2 separate regions of the Homo sapiens genome follow, and region 1 is linked to region 2. Evidence: promoter capture Hi-C in 16 types of primary human blood cells and fetal thymus (Javierre and others, 2016). All regions are on one chromosome and are shown on one strand. The core of a region is centred on a gene start or on the middle of the fragment in contact, and the rest is flanking DNA. Distances in the headings are between cores, read along the strand shown.

Evidence for each region. Contacts are between HindIII fragments. The CHiCAGO score rates a contact against its expected background, and 5 or more counts as called.
Region 1: a contact is called between a fragment that was not itself captured here and the fragment with the promoter of USP49 in region 2, in 2 of 17 cell types (total CD8 T cells and total CD4 T cells). The highest score is 5.5, in total CD8 T cells.

What each region holds. Positions count from the first base shown.
Region 1 is chr6:42,160,496-42,167,499 of GRCh38, reverse strand. The region is part of intron 1 of GUCA1ANB-GUCA1A (GUCA1ANB-GUCA1A readthrough); the gene reads right to left. It overlaps CIMIP3 (ciliary microtubule inner protein 3), which reads right to left. Exons shown (of 2, transcript NM_001384994.1): 2 at 4,082-4,580. The coding sequence ends at 4,251. Among named protein-coding and RNA genes, the nearest start is that of GUCA1ANB-GUCA1A, 8.6 kb to the right of the region's middle. RefSeq lists an enhancer at 794-1,761. The HindIII fragment of the contact is 8,730 bases long and covers 1-5,699 here.
Region 2 is chr6:41,893,981-41,900,234 of GRCh38, reverse strand. It overlaps USP49 (ubiquitin specific peptidase 49), which reads left to right and starts at 4,860. Exons shown (of 8, transcript NM_001286554.2): 1 at 4,860-4,911. RefSeq lists enhancers at 4,463-4,652, 5,587-6,101 and silencers at 4,702-4,994, 4,783-5,022. The HindIII fragment of the contact is 15,191 bases long and covers 1-6,254 here.

The sequences.
Region 1 (7,004 bases), core at 85-2,584, 270 kb before region 2:
AATTCTCAAAAAGCTAAAATTGGATGAAACTATGCTTGTTGAATAGGTGCACAAGTCCTGTGGGGTGGGTATTATTATTGCCATGTGAGACAAAAGGGGCTTGGGGCAGAAAATTTAAATCACCTGCTCAGGTTCACGAGCACTTTAGTGGTGGTACCAAAGTTTTCCCACCTCATCATCATGCTTTTCTCCTAAGCCTTCACACCCTGCAGAAGGGCTGGATAGAGCCAGGGGGACCCCACGAGCCCCTCACTCCAGCGCCATCTCCCTCAGTCCTCCCCTTGTGGCCCTCTGCCCAACAATTCCATTGACAGAGAGCTTGCTCCCTTTGAGGGAGGAGGGCCCCCACCCCTTGTCTCCAGCCCAGGGTGGGAATGGAATCCCCTGAGACAGGGATGCCAAGGCAAGGAGGACTGAGATCAACACCAAGGCCCCAAGGAAGCAGTATGCACAAGGTATGCGTTAGGGCACAGAGGGCCAGAGTACAGGTCACACAGCATACACAGGGAGGATTCCTGCCTTCCCTGGCTGCTCTGCCTGCAGGAATCCCTCCTGGGACAGAAGCCAGATCAGAGGAAGAGGCTCCACCTGGCGGAATGGGGCCGAGGGGAGGGAGGATGGGGCAGCTGCAGAGAGGTAGGAAGACAAACCAGGAAGAGACAGGAGGGGCAGTGATCCAGGCCAGACTAATCCCCCCCTAAGGCTGCCTGCTTGCCCCTCTACTCCACAGAAACACAGAAGGACCCTGAGCACAGGTTCAGTTGCCTCCTGGGCCTATCTCACTCAAAACAAGGTGGTACCTTGGCCGGTTTCTTTAAAGGGTTTCTAAGGGCGTCCATGGAGGCTGCATTACCAAGGTGAACCTCAAGAGGGAGCCCATTCTCCAGGGTAGGGGAGGAGGCGTTTGTTGTGGGAGTGAAGACGCCTCATGGGGATCCTGCCCCTCACCCTACACAGGCTATAGGATCTGGAAGGGAAGGGACGGTTCCTGTTAATATCTTTGCATCTTAAGGACACAGCCCACAGGGTCTGTTGGGTGACTGACTGATTGAATGAGCAAGACTTCTAGTTATACATAGACTGAAAACTTCCACTTATCTCTGCTTCTTTTCAAAATCCCACTAAAATATGAATAAATGCATGTTTTAAAGACAAAAGGAGGCCGGGCGCAGTGGCTAACGCCTGTAATCCCAGCGCTTTGTGAGGCCGAGGCGGGCGGATCACCTGAGGTCGGGAGTTCAAGACCAGCCTGTCCAACATGGAGAAACCCCGTCTCTACTAAAAATACAAAAATTAGCCGGGCATGGTGGTACATTCCTGTAATCCCAGCTACCCGGGAGGCTGAGGCAGGAGAATCGCTTGAACCTGGGAGGAGGAGGTTATGGTGAGCCAAGATTGCACCATTGCACTCCAGCCTGGGCAACAAGAGCAAAACTCCGTCTCAAAAAAGGAAAAAGGGGCTGGGCACAGTGGCTCACGCCTGTAATCCCAGCACTTTGGGAGGCCGAGGCAGGTGGATCACCTGAGGTCAGGAGTTCAAGACCAGCCTGACCAACATGGAGAAACCCCGTCTCTACTAAAAATACAAAATTAGCAGGGCATGGCGGCCCATGCCTGTAATCCCAGCTACTCGGGAGGCTGAGGCAGGAGAATCGCTTGAACCCGGGAGGTGGAAGTTGTGGTGAGCTGAGATCCCGCCATTGGACTCCAGACTGGGCAACAAGAGTGAAACTCTTATCTCAAAAAAAGAAAAAAGAAAAGAAAGAAAGAAAAGAAAAGAGGAAAAAAGACAGCAGATACAGGGGTTCTAATAAAATTTTGGAAAACAAGACAGATGGACAAGTGGTAACTGTCTTTCTTATGAGAGTGGAGAAAGTCGAAACCTAAATGCTTTCAAAGAGGAGGAGCCTGCGGAGCTCGGGACAAACCTATTCCTGCTGCAGGAATAGGGAGGCAGAGATACCAGGTGCCCCTGAAGGCTGGGATGCAGCACAGGTGGAGCAGAAAATAGGGCTGGCCAAAGTTTGCATAAGGAACACTTAGCTTCTCCGATGCCCTCCGCAAGGCAGCAGAACAGGCATCTCCCGGCATCAGTCCCCTCCTGACCCTGATTGAAGGTTCTTCTGGAGATTTGGGCCAGAGAGCCGCTAGTCTCTAGGCACAGCCTCAGGAAGAGACATGTGCCATTCTATAAATGGAGCGTTAAAAGAAAGTCTACATATGGACAGTGAGAAAACCACCATGCGCCTTCCCCCACCCCAGCTCATTCCCGTGGCTGGCTCCTTGAACACTGATGACCAAGCAGAAGGAGAGACCTGGTACAGATGCCAGATGGTCTGAGGCCAGCCAAGGCTCATCAGGCATTTGAGGAAAACCTCTAACTCAAAAGAGAGCCTACAGCAAGCCAAGAGGAAAACGCGGATTCTATGCTGTTAGGGTCGCCTCGAGGGGTCTCCACTTCCCTCCACACTGCTTACCATCTTCTCAAAGAAAGGCCCACAGGACAGCCTGGCCTTGTTGTGGGCTGCTTGTCGGGGTCTCTGGACACCTGTCTCTCCTTCCCACACCAACCCCAACCTCTCCTGCACAGGAATTATGCCCCACAGAATACACCACCATACCTACAGAGGGACGAGACTCCTAGGAATGAAACCAGCTGAATTCACCCTGTGGTGTGCTGGTAAATGTTTAATGATGAGCTCTCTGGAAAAAAGAAACTCCAATTTGTAGGCATTTGCTCACTTCTGTGGTGTAAATGCTCCCACCACAGCTGATTCCAAACTGCCAACAGGAAGTCACTGATTGTGGGCCGGGTGCGGTGGCTCACACCTGTAATCCCAGCACTTTGGGAGGCCGAGGTGGGCAGATCACAAGGTCAGGAGATCAAGACCATCCTGGCTAACATGGTGAAACCCCATCTCTACTAAATATACAAAAAAAAAAAAAAAAAATAGCCGGGTGTGGTGGCGGGCACCTGTAGTCCCAGCTACTCAGGAGGCTGAGGCAGGAGAATGGCGTGAACCCGGGAAGCGGAGCTTGCACTGAGCTGAGATCACGCCACTGCACTCCAGCCCGGGCGACAGAGCGAGACTCCGTCTCAAAAAAAAAAAAAAAAGAAATCACTGATTGTGGAGTAGGGAAGACATGGGCACAACCAGCTCTTACAAGTCAGTACAAGCTGGCTCCAGCACACCACTGGGGTTCCCTCTGAATGGCAGTGACTGGGAACTCACTCAGGCCCCTGCTGTGAATCCAGTGCCCTCTGCCTCCATCCCCCTCTTCCATGCCCCATGACCCATGAGCTCAACTAGCCTCAGAGCCAGCTCTTCTAGACCAGAGGAGACGGCAAGGATGGGAAATCCTTCCCCCACCAACAAACTACAAGTCAGAAGCAGCAGCTTTATGTAAAACTGGGTCTGGGAGGGGACCTAGAGTCTGTGTTCATTCCCTGCATTCTTCCTCATTCTGCAGCAGCTGCTCCAACCAGGGTAAGATGACCTTGTAAGAGAGCAGGAGTCATGGCCAGTTGATGGATCTCTTCCTTTTTTTAAATTAATTTTTTTTTTTTGACGGAGTCTTACTCTGTCACCCAGGCTGGAGTGCAATGGCATGATTTCGGCTCACTGCAACCTCTGCCTCCTGGCTTCAAGGGATTCTCATTCCTTAGTCTCCCGAGTAGCTGGGATTATAGGCACCTGCCATCATGCCTGGCTAATTTTTGTAGAGACGGGGTTTCACCATGTTGGCCAGGCTGGTCTTGAACTCCTGACCTCAGGTGATCTGCCCACCTTGGCCTCCTGAAGTGCTGGGATTACAGGTGTGAGCCACCACACCCACCCTCTCTTCCTTGGAGGGGTCCGAGCCTGGACCATCGGGAGGCTGGAGCTAGGATGGGCTTTGCTTGGGACTCAGCTCTGGAGAAGGGTTGAGGTTACTTTTGGGGTTAGGGAACTGAGAATCAAGTCCTTCCAAGTCTTCAGAAACCTCTGGACATAACCTTACTGTATAACATCCCCATGGCCTGTTTACCTACCCACAGCCACCCATTCAGATGCCAGGGAAAGGAAGGACAAACTTTAACTGCTGCTGAGAAGAGAGACCTCCCTTTATCATTGTCAATAGGTGGGCATGGCACAGCTGTCTTAGCCCGAATATAGGTCACTCCTCCTGCAGTGAGCAGCCCTTCCCCTTGGGGACCTGAGGTCACAGGGGTGAGGGTGAAGGGTCGGGGGCTTCCGTTTGGCTCAGGCCTAGGAGCGCCACAAGACCAAGTTGGCAGGAGGCACATCAAAGCGCTTGCGGGTGTGGTCAGTGTCCCGGCGGTACAGGTAGCCACAGGTAGGCTTCTGCAAAGTGTAGAAGGGGTTCAGGGAGTTGGAGTACTGGGAGGTGTAGAAATTGAACCTGAGCTTGTCCGGATTCTGCCCCTTAGAGTCCACAACGACCGGCACATAGGCTGCTGCCAGAGACTGCTCGAGGTCCTGCTTCCACGCCCGGGGCCGGGACGAGTGTGGAGCCTTCACCCCCTTGCATGACGGTGTCTTTGGCCCATGACTGGGTACAGAGGGTTTCTGTGAGTCCTGGGAGGGGGGAAAGAAGGGGAGAGCTGAGGCATTGGATACTGGGACTTCAACTGCTATGCCAGGGGCAGAAGGGAGGAGAAAGAGCCACTGCTCAGAAGCCCCCAGAGCCACTCTGGAGCACTGCTGTGCTGACCATGGAGCCAGGGACCTCCAGAGCAGGGGAGAGCCATCAGGGTCCCCTGACCTGGCCCCCTGCTGCTGCAGAACTCTGCCTACCTACCAGAGGCAACTGCCAGCTCCCAGAGGCTAGGAACCTGGGGATTATCTTCAGTCCCTCCCCACCCCCCTTCCCTGCATCCAATCGTCTGTCCGTGTCCTTGGCCTGGCTCCTGTGTGGCCCTCCCCTCCCTCTTCCCTGCCACTGCTCCGTCAGGCCTTCGACCTCTCTATCCTGTGGGGCCCCTCCAGCTTGCCCTCCACCAGGGCTTCCTGTCTCCCACCCTCCTACTTGGTCACGCTGTGCTTCACACTCACAGAGCGAGACTCCATCTCAAAAAAAAAAAAAAAGAGTTTCGCTCTTGTTGCCCAGGCTGGAGTACAATGGCACGATCTCGGCTCACTGCAACCTCCGCCTCCTGGGTTCAAGCGATTCTTCTGCCTCAGCCTCCTGAGTAAGCTGGGATTACAGGCACCCGCCACCACGCCCGGCTAATTTTTGTATTTTTAGTACAGATGGGGTTTCACCATGTTGGCCAGGCTGGTCTCAAACTCCTGACCTCAGGTGATTCACCCGCCTCGGCCTCCCAAAGTGCTGGGATAACAGGCGTGAGCCACTGCGTCCAGCCTACTGTGTCTCAAAAAAAAAAAAAAAAAAAAAAAAAAAAAAGAATGTGGCTTCCACTCTCCAGTCCCTCCATCCCTCCACCTACCCAGCATTTCAGCCACACAGTCTACCTCTTGTTCCCTGCTCACATCCGGTACTTCCAGAGCCTGTACCTTGGCTCAGGTGTTCCCCAGCCTTGCGTGCTCTCCCTCCTGTGCACTAGGGAAATTCTGTCTTTCCCATTAGAGTTTCAGCTCCTTGAGGGCAACTATCTCATACTCTTACCCTTGACATAACAGCCTCCAAAATCCTATTTACTGTTTTACTCCAGAAGAATGCATTTAGAGAAAGCTTGATAAATGCTGGATCAATTGAACTGAATTCTAGTAAGGGGTACCCGCTCACTTTCCAGCCAGCCAGCCCATTCTATTTTATAACATATCTCATTGTTACCAAATGTGTCTCCTACTCACCCATACCTACCTCGTCCTAACCACCACTCTTGGTTGATTACTTATTGGGGTCTACTCAATCTCTAGGAGGCCCCCATTGACACATTTAGCGCCTCACATTGACATTTATTTATTCCTCTGTCACTACCCTTCCTGTGACCAAGCTATCCTGTTCACCTTCAAATCCCCACACCACGTTTCAGGTACCAGCTGTACATTTTACTAGGGACTGTCCTCACCGTGACAGCACCACCAAAGGATGAAGCATCTGTAGGCAATCATCCATCCTGCGTGTGTGTCAGGCTGGATCTATTCTGCTCCCCCAGGCTTCAGCGGTCAGGGGAATCCATTTCCTCTCCCCCAGCCTCACAGCCCTCCAGCCTCTAGGCACTGTGAGAGAACCCCTAGGTACAGGGTTAGTGGAAGTTGAGCTCCTGCCCTCTTACAAAAGAAGTCTCCTTTGCTCAAATCATGATGTATTTCCTCTGTGTTTTGTTTTGTTTTTTGTTTTTTGAGATGGAGTTTCGCTCTTGTTACCCAGGCTGAAGTGCAAGGATGCAATCTCAGCTCACTGCAATCCCCACCTCCTGGGTTCAAGCAATTCTCCTGCCTCACCCTCCCGAGTAGGTGGGATTACAGGCATGCGCCACCACACCAGGCTAATTTTGTATTTTCAGTAGAGATGGGTTTTCTCCACATTTGTCAGGATGGTCTCAAACTCCCGACCTCAGGTGATCCGCCCGCCTCAGCCTCCCAAAGTGCTGGGATTACAGGCATGAGCCACTTCACCCGGCCTCCTCTGGGTTTAATTTACAAACTATCTGCCCAGCCCAAACTTGTCCAGGGCTTTCCTCCAAAGCAGGCTTTGTTCCTATTGGTTCCTACCCAGGTATAAATGTGCCCTCAGTTTTGCAAATTTGCAGTTTTTGAAATTCTTCCTATTCTTCCAAGTTCAGCAGCAGACTTGAAACCTTCTCCAGGAACCACTGAAGACTCCTGCAGCCCCTGTCCCATCTTGTCCTCTTCTGTGCCTTCTGGACCCCTCTCAGGATGTGCTCCTTCGCTGGAGGGACTAAGGTGAGTCAGGCACACACATTTTGAAGAAGTTGTCATTCAGAGTCCTACAAGTGCACTGGGACCGCTTGCTGCAGTCTCGTCTCATCTTAGTCCCAGTATAGTCCTTTGCTAAAGTCCCAACAGGCTGTA
Region 2 (6,254 bases), core at 3,611-6,110:
TTTTTGAGACAGAGTCTCACTCTATGGCCTAGGCTGGAGTACAGTGGTACAATCTTGGCTCACTGCAACCTCCGGCTCCCAGGTTCAAGCAATTCTTGTGCCTCAGCCTCCCGAGTAGCTGGGATTACAGGTGCCCGCCACCATATGACCTCAGGTGTTCTACCCACCATGGCCTCCCAAAGTGCAGGGATTACAGGCGTGAGCTACTGCTCCTGGCCAAAATATATATATATATATATATTTATTTAATTTTTTTTTTTTTGAGATGGGGTCTTGGTCTGTTGCCCAGGCTGGAATGCAGTGGCATGATCATAGCTCACTACAGCCTCCATCTCCCAGGCTCAAGCAGTCCTCCCACCTCATCCTCCTGAGTAGCTGGAACTACCTGTGCCCACTGCCATATCTGGCTAATTTATTTTTAGTAGAGATGAGGTGTTGCTATGTTGTCCAGGCTTGGTCTCAAACTTCCTAAGCTCAAGCGATCTTCCCACCTTGGCTTCCCAAAGTGCTGGGATAACAGGCATGAGCCACTGTGCCTGGCTGATAAAATATTTTTAAGGAAAAGTAATTATTTTTCCAAACAAAATTTCTTGAGAAGAGTAGCATTGTTTTTAATTTTCATAAATCTTTTGAATGTCTGGCATAATAGAAGACTGTGAAATACTCATATCTGCTTTTGCATTCAGTCTGTTTCAATGTTATTTTGGTTGAAGAATATGAAGAAAATTCAGCCTCCCACAGATGTGTATTTGGAAAAAGGGAGAAATATATTCATAACTTTTTCAGATAATTGTGGATATTCTTTGATGCTATCAAAACTCTGCTAAAGGTTAGTTGCAATGTGGAACCTCAAAGTATATTAGTGAACTTTTTATATTCCATTAATATTTATTGGTTTATTTTGCACTTTTTTTTTTTCTTTTTAGGGATGGGGGTCTCGCTATATTGCCCAGGCTAGTCTCGAACTCCTGGGCTCAAGTGATCCACCTGCCTCAGCCTTTCAAAGTGCCAGGATTACAGGCGTGAGCCACTGCACCTGGCCTTATTTTGCACTTTGAATGGATCTTTTACTAATGTGTGATTTTGTAGTGTCATGCATTGGTCATTTGGAAAACACTGCACATCTCCTAAATGTTGACACATTATACAGTATCAAAAAATCATATTTATTTATTTTTATTTTTATTTTATTTTATTTTATTTTTTGAGATGGAGTCTCGTTCTGTCGCCCAGGCTGGAGTGCAGTGGCACCATCTCGGCTCACTGCAAGCTCCGCCTCCCAGGTTCAAGCAATTCTCCTGCCTCAGCCTCCCGGGTAGCTGGGACTAAGGCACATGCCGCCATACCCAGCTAATTTTTTTTGTATTTTGAGTAGAGATGGGGTTTCACTGTGTTGCGCAGGCTGGTCTTGAACTCCTGAGCTCAGGCAATCCGCTCACCTCGGCCTCCCAAAGTGCCAGGATTACAGGCATGAGCCACCGTGCCCGGACTTATTTTAGTTTTGTGAGACAGAGTCTTGCTCTGTTGCCCAGGCTGGAGGGCAGTGCCATGATCTCGGCTCACTGCAACCTCTGCCTCCCTGGTTCAAGCAATTCTTGTGTCTCAGCCTCCTGAGTAGCTGGTATTACAGGCATGCGCCACCATGCCCAGCTAATTTTTTTATTTTTAGTAGAGATGGGGTTTCGCCATGTTGGCCAGACTGGTCTCGAACTCCTGGCCTGAAATGATTTGCCCACCTTGACCTCCCAAAGTGTTGGGATTACAGGCATGAGCCACCGTGCCTGGCCCACTACCAGTCTTATTAGAAAAAGTCATGGGAAGCTATCAAACTTACATTGGGAGATACAAGTCAGTTGTTAGAAATTCTGTTTGACTTAAATGCTTGAGTTTTATCAGGCCGGGTGCGGTGGCTCACGCCTGTAATCCTAGCACTTTGGGAAGCTGAGGCGGGCAGACTGCCTGAGCTCAGGAGTTCAAGACCAGCCTGGGCAACATGGCGAAACCCTGTCTCTACTAAAATACAAAAAATTAGCTGGGCGTTAGTGGCGTGTGCCTGTGGTGCCAGCTACTCAGGAGGCTGAGGCAGGAGAATTGCTTGAACCTGGGAGGCAGAGGTTGCAGTGAGCTGAGATCACGCCACTCCACTCCAGCCTGGGTAACAGAGTGAGACTCCGTCTCCAAAAATAAAAATAAAGGCTTGAGTTTTATCATAACCGACAATGCTATCAGGCTCTACTTTATTTTTAAGAACATGTCTGCCAAATATCCAGTGAACAACTAGTCTGTTAGCTGTTCTTTCAAATAAAAACGGTGTTCCATGAAGAAAGCTATTAATTCAGCTCCAAACTCAAATTGCAAGAGTGCTTTTCCTCAAGACAAATGTTGTACTTAAAAGTGCTTGATGCATACATACATGCATTTAATCACATAAACGTGTACTTAAATAAAACAATTTTTATTGTCTTCATCAAAGACCTCTTAAATGAAACAGGTGGTTTTTTTTTTTTTTTTTTTTGAGACAGTGTCGCACTCTGTTGCCTAGGCTGGAGTGCAGTGGTGCGATCTCGGCTCACTGAAACCTCTGCCTCCCAGGTTCAAGTGATTCTCCTGCCTCAGCTTCCCGAGTAGCTGGGATTACAGGTGCGTGCCACCACGCCCAGCTAATTTCTGTATTTTTAGTAGAGAGAGGGGTTTCACCATGTTGGCCAGGCTGGTCTCGAATTCCTGACCTCAAGTGATCCACCTGCCTTGGCCTCCCAAAGTGTTGGGATTACAGGTGTGAGCCACTGCACCCATCCGGCCTGAAACAGGTGTTTTTTTACTGTAGCAGTGAAGAATACCTTGACCTCTAGCACAACTTGGTGCAGTTGCCTTGATTTGTGCTAAGGCAGCAGTTTTACCCATTGCTACTTTTGTATCATTGTGCAAATATCATCACAGTGACAATGCAGATATGTCTCAGTATTATTAGGAAAATCGTTTTGATCTCAGGCACCCCACTATCCCCCCAGCCCAAAGGGTCTCAGAGATCCCTAGGCCTTTCCAGGCGACACTTTTTTTTTTTTTTTTTTTTTTTTGAGATGGAGTCTCACTCCGTTGCCAGGCTGGAGTGCTGTGGCACGATCTCAGCTCACTGCAACCTCCAACTCCCTGGTTCAAGCAATTCTCCTGCCTCAGCCTCCTGAGTAGCTGGGATTACAGGCACACGCCACCACGTCCGGATAATTTTTGTATTTTTAGTAGAGACGGAGTTTCACCATGTTGGCCAGGCTGGTCTTGATCTCCTGACCTCATGATCCACCTGCCTTGGCCTCCCAAAGTGCTGGGATTACAGGCGTGAGCCACCGTGCCCGGCCTCCAGGCCACATTTTTGAGAACACTGATCTAATACATGCTCACATCACTGAGAAACTTTTCCTCCTGTATTGCTATTCTGGGAGCATCCCTTCCATTGGAAGTTTTAAGTGGCTCCCAAATTCTTCACTCAGCAAAAGCACCTTGTTATGGAACTAACATTGAATAAGTAACAATCTTTCTTCTCCAAGAATTTTCTTGGGGATTGTTGAGTAAGGGAATAAGACATATAATTAGAGTTATAATGTTAAGAATTCCTTAAAAAGAATTATGTTAACTGTGATGGACGACAAAGGGAGAGCTAAATTCTGAATCTAACTCTGAGGCCTTGAACCTCATGATAAATCCCGACCAAACCAAATTGAAACACTCCACTTCCTCTCCTTCTATCAAACCTCTTTTAAAAGTGCAAGTTGTTAATAAATTGCCTACACAGCGCTTGGTCCAGGCATTGTAGTTTCCCCCTTCCTATTGTGTGTGGTGTTCTTTTTTTTTTTTTTGTGCTTACCTAGTTCTCCTGTTTACAGGTGTGTAACTTGAGCCACTACTATAGCTAATGTCTGTTTCTTTTACTTGTCCTTATATTTAAATGTAAGTCTTTATCTGCCTTAGCTATGTGTTGGGTGTTGAAATTGTTGATCTTATTTTGGGAGACTCCCATCCCCTCCCCCCACTACCACCCCGCAAGTAGTTTCAAGACAGTGCACCTAGGAGACTGCTTAACCTAAGCCTTTTGTAGCTTAGGTGCTGTTCTGTTTCCCAATGGACCACTACCAAGTCAGTCTGGTTTATTTCCCAAGCCTTACAATCTGCTGAACTTCTTCAGTTCCGGCAGCGATCCTCTAACTTGTGGGGGATTTCCATAAAACAGCTGAATCTCTCTTGGGTCATCTGTGGCAAAAGCCAGACACGTGCTCACCCGCCTGGGAGCCAATAGTAACTTTTGCAAACGCTGCCTCCGGAAACCCCACGGTTTGAGGGCTGCTGCTTTAGGAACAACACAGAAATAACGTCTTTTAACAGAATAAAACAAAACATACGGACGGGATAGTGAGAAAGCCTTTGTCCTTCGCAGTGGGGAGAGGTGTTAAAGGTGAACCGAAAAGAGTATGGGAAACTCATGTAAAATACCTTTACAGTTCCCCGGGAAGAAGGGGGCGGAGATGGGCTCGGGAGCGTCTCTGGCCCTTTAAGGAGGAGGGACAGACATAAGAGTCTGTACCTTTAAGAGTCTCTTTGTCTGGAAACCTTCTTATTTACCCTCCTGTGCTTCAACCAAACTTCGACCAGCTATTCACAACGTCCCCCTACGCCGCCGCCCCTTACGCCAGGCTCAAAGCGGCCGCGCGTTTGTGGCTGACCCTAAACTTTGCGCCTGCGGCGCGAACCCTCGGAACGGGTGCCGGTGCCGGGGTCGCGGCCCAGCGCTGCGCCGTTGGCGCAATGCAGGGCCTGAGGGGCGGGGCTCCAGCGGGCGGGCCAATAGACGGGCAGGGGGCGGGGCCGTGTTCGGTTGTCTCGCGCCCTGGTGACAGCTCGCGCGTGCTGATGATGGCGGTAAATAGAGGGGGCCGGGGGAGGGGACGGAGGAGGTGGGGAGGCAGCAAAGTGGGTAGCTCCAGGGGGTAGGGGGAACGGGGGCCGGGGAGGCCGCGACGGCCAGGGAGCCCATTCTAAGACTCGGAGGCGGGGATAGGAGTCTCCGGCTCACTAGCCCTCCCCTTTAAAGAAGCAAAATCCTCACACACCGGGTGAGGGGCGACAAAGGCAGCGCGCGCCTCGCGGGCGGGAGGAGCGGCGGCAGGGGGCGGGACCGCGGCGCCGGCGGGCTGGGGGCGCCCGGGGCGGGGGCGGCGGGAGGCGAGAGCCGGGAGTCGGGGCGCGCGGGCGCCTTATTTTGGCGGGGTGGGCGACGGCTGGGTTGGGGCAAAAGCGTTGAAGGGAGAGGGAAAGGAAGGCTTGGAGGCGATGAGGGGAACCGGGTTGAGAATGAGATGAGGAGGATTAAGGGGAGAAAGGGTTAGAAGCCAGGGAGAGGAGGAGTGAGAAAAAGCCAGCCAAGGAGATAGGAAGGAGGCAAAAGCCAGGGTGGGCGTTAAGGAAGCCGGGCAGGGAATGAGGTTAGGGCTGGGGAAAGGGATCCTGGGGTTAGGTGTAAGAGCAGGGGTTTGAAGGGGAAATCTTCGTAGCGGGTGGTGTTGGGGTGAGGGGTACCGGGGTAAGTGTTGGAAGTGGAAGACAAGGAGGGGCAGAGCTGGGGTAATAGTTGGGAGTAGGAAAGAGAGAGTGATTAAGAGCCAGACGTGACGAGGGTGTGAACTAGTGCGGAGCGAGATGAGCTGAAGGACTGGGACCAACGGTGTGGTGGGAACTGCTGGCGAGGTTCTGAGAAAGGAATGGGTTAGTGGGTGGGCGATGGATGTAAATTCTGTAAAGTGAGGGAGGGCAAATGAGACCTGGACTGGAACCAGGTGGAGTCAGGAATAAGAGTGTGGTGGAAGGGCGAAAGGAAACAGATAAGAGATGGGTGTCTGTAGGACGATTCTGGGACCAGAAGAGCTGAAAGGAGACTAGAGTTAGGGTGTAAGAAGTGATGGCCATCTGGGACAAGGATAACTGGGTAATTACGTTAATTGAAGAGGTTCAGCAAGATCCAAGGTGAAAACAGTGAGGTAAAGAGACAGGGCTAAAAGCAAATGGTGAGAGGAGCAGGAAGAGATGGGCCCCAGAATTTAAAGGATGAGATGGGGAGTAAGGGAAGAGAGGGGGCTAAGAGAAGCTGGGGGAGTCCTGATGGATGTAGAACTGGGGTAGACTGCAGGGGGGTGGGAATCGAATGTGCGTGTTATGGGGAGTTGCTCCAGAAGGTCTGCAAGGGTCAGGGCAGAAATGCTGTAGTG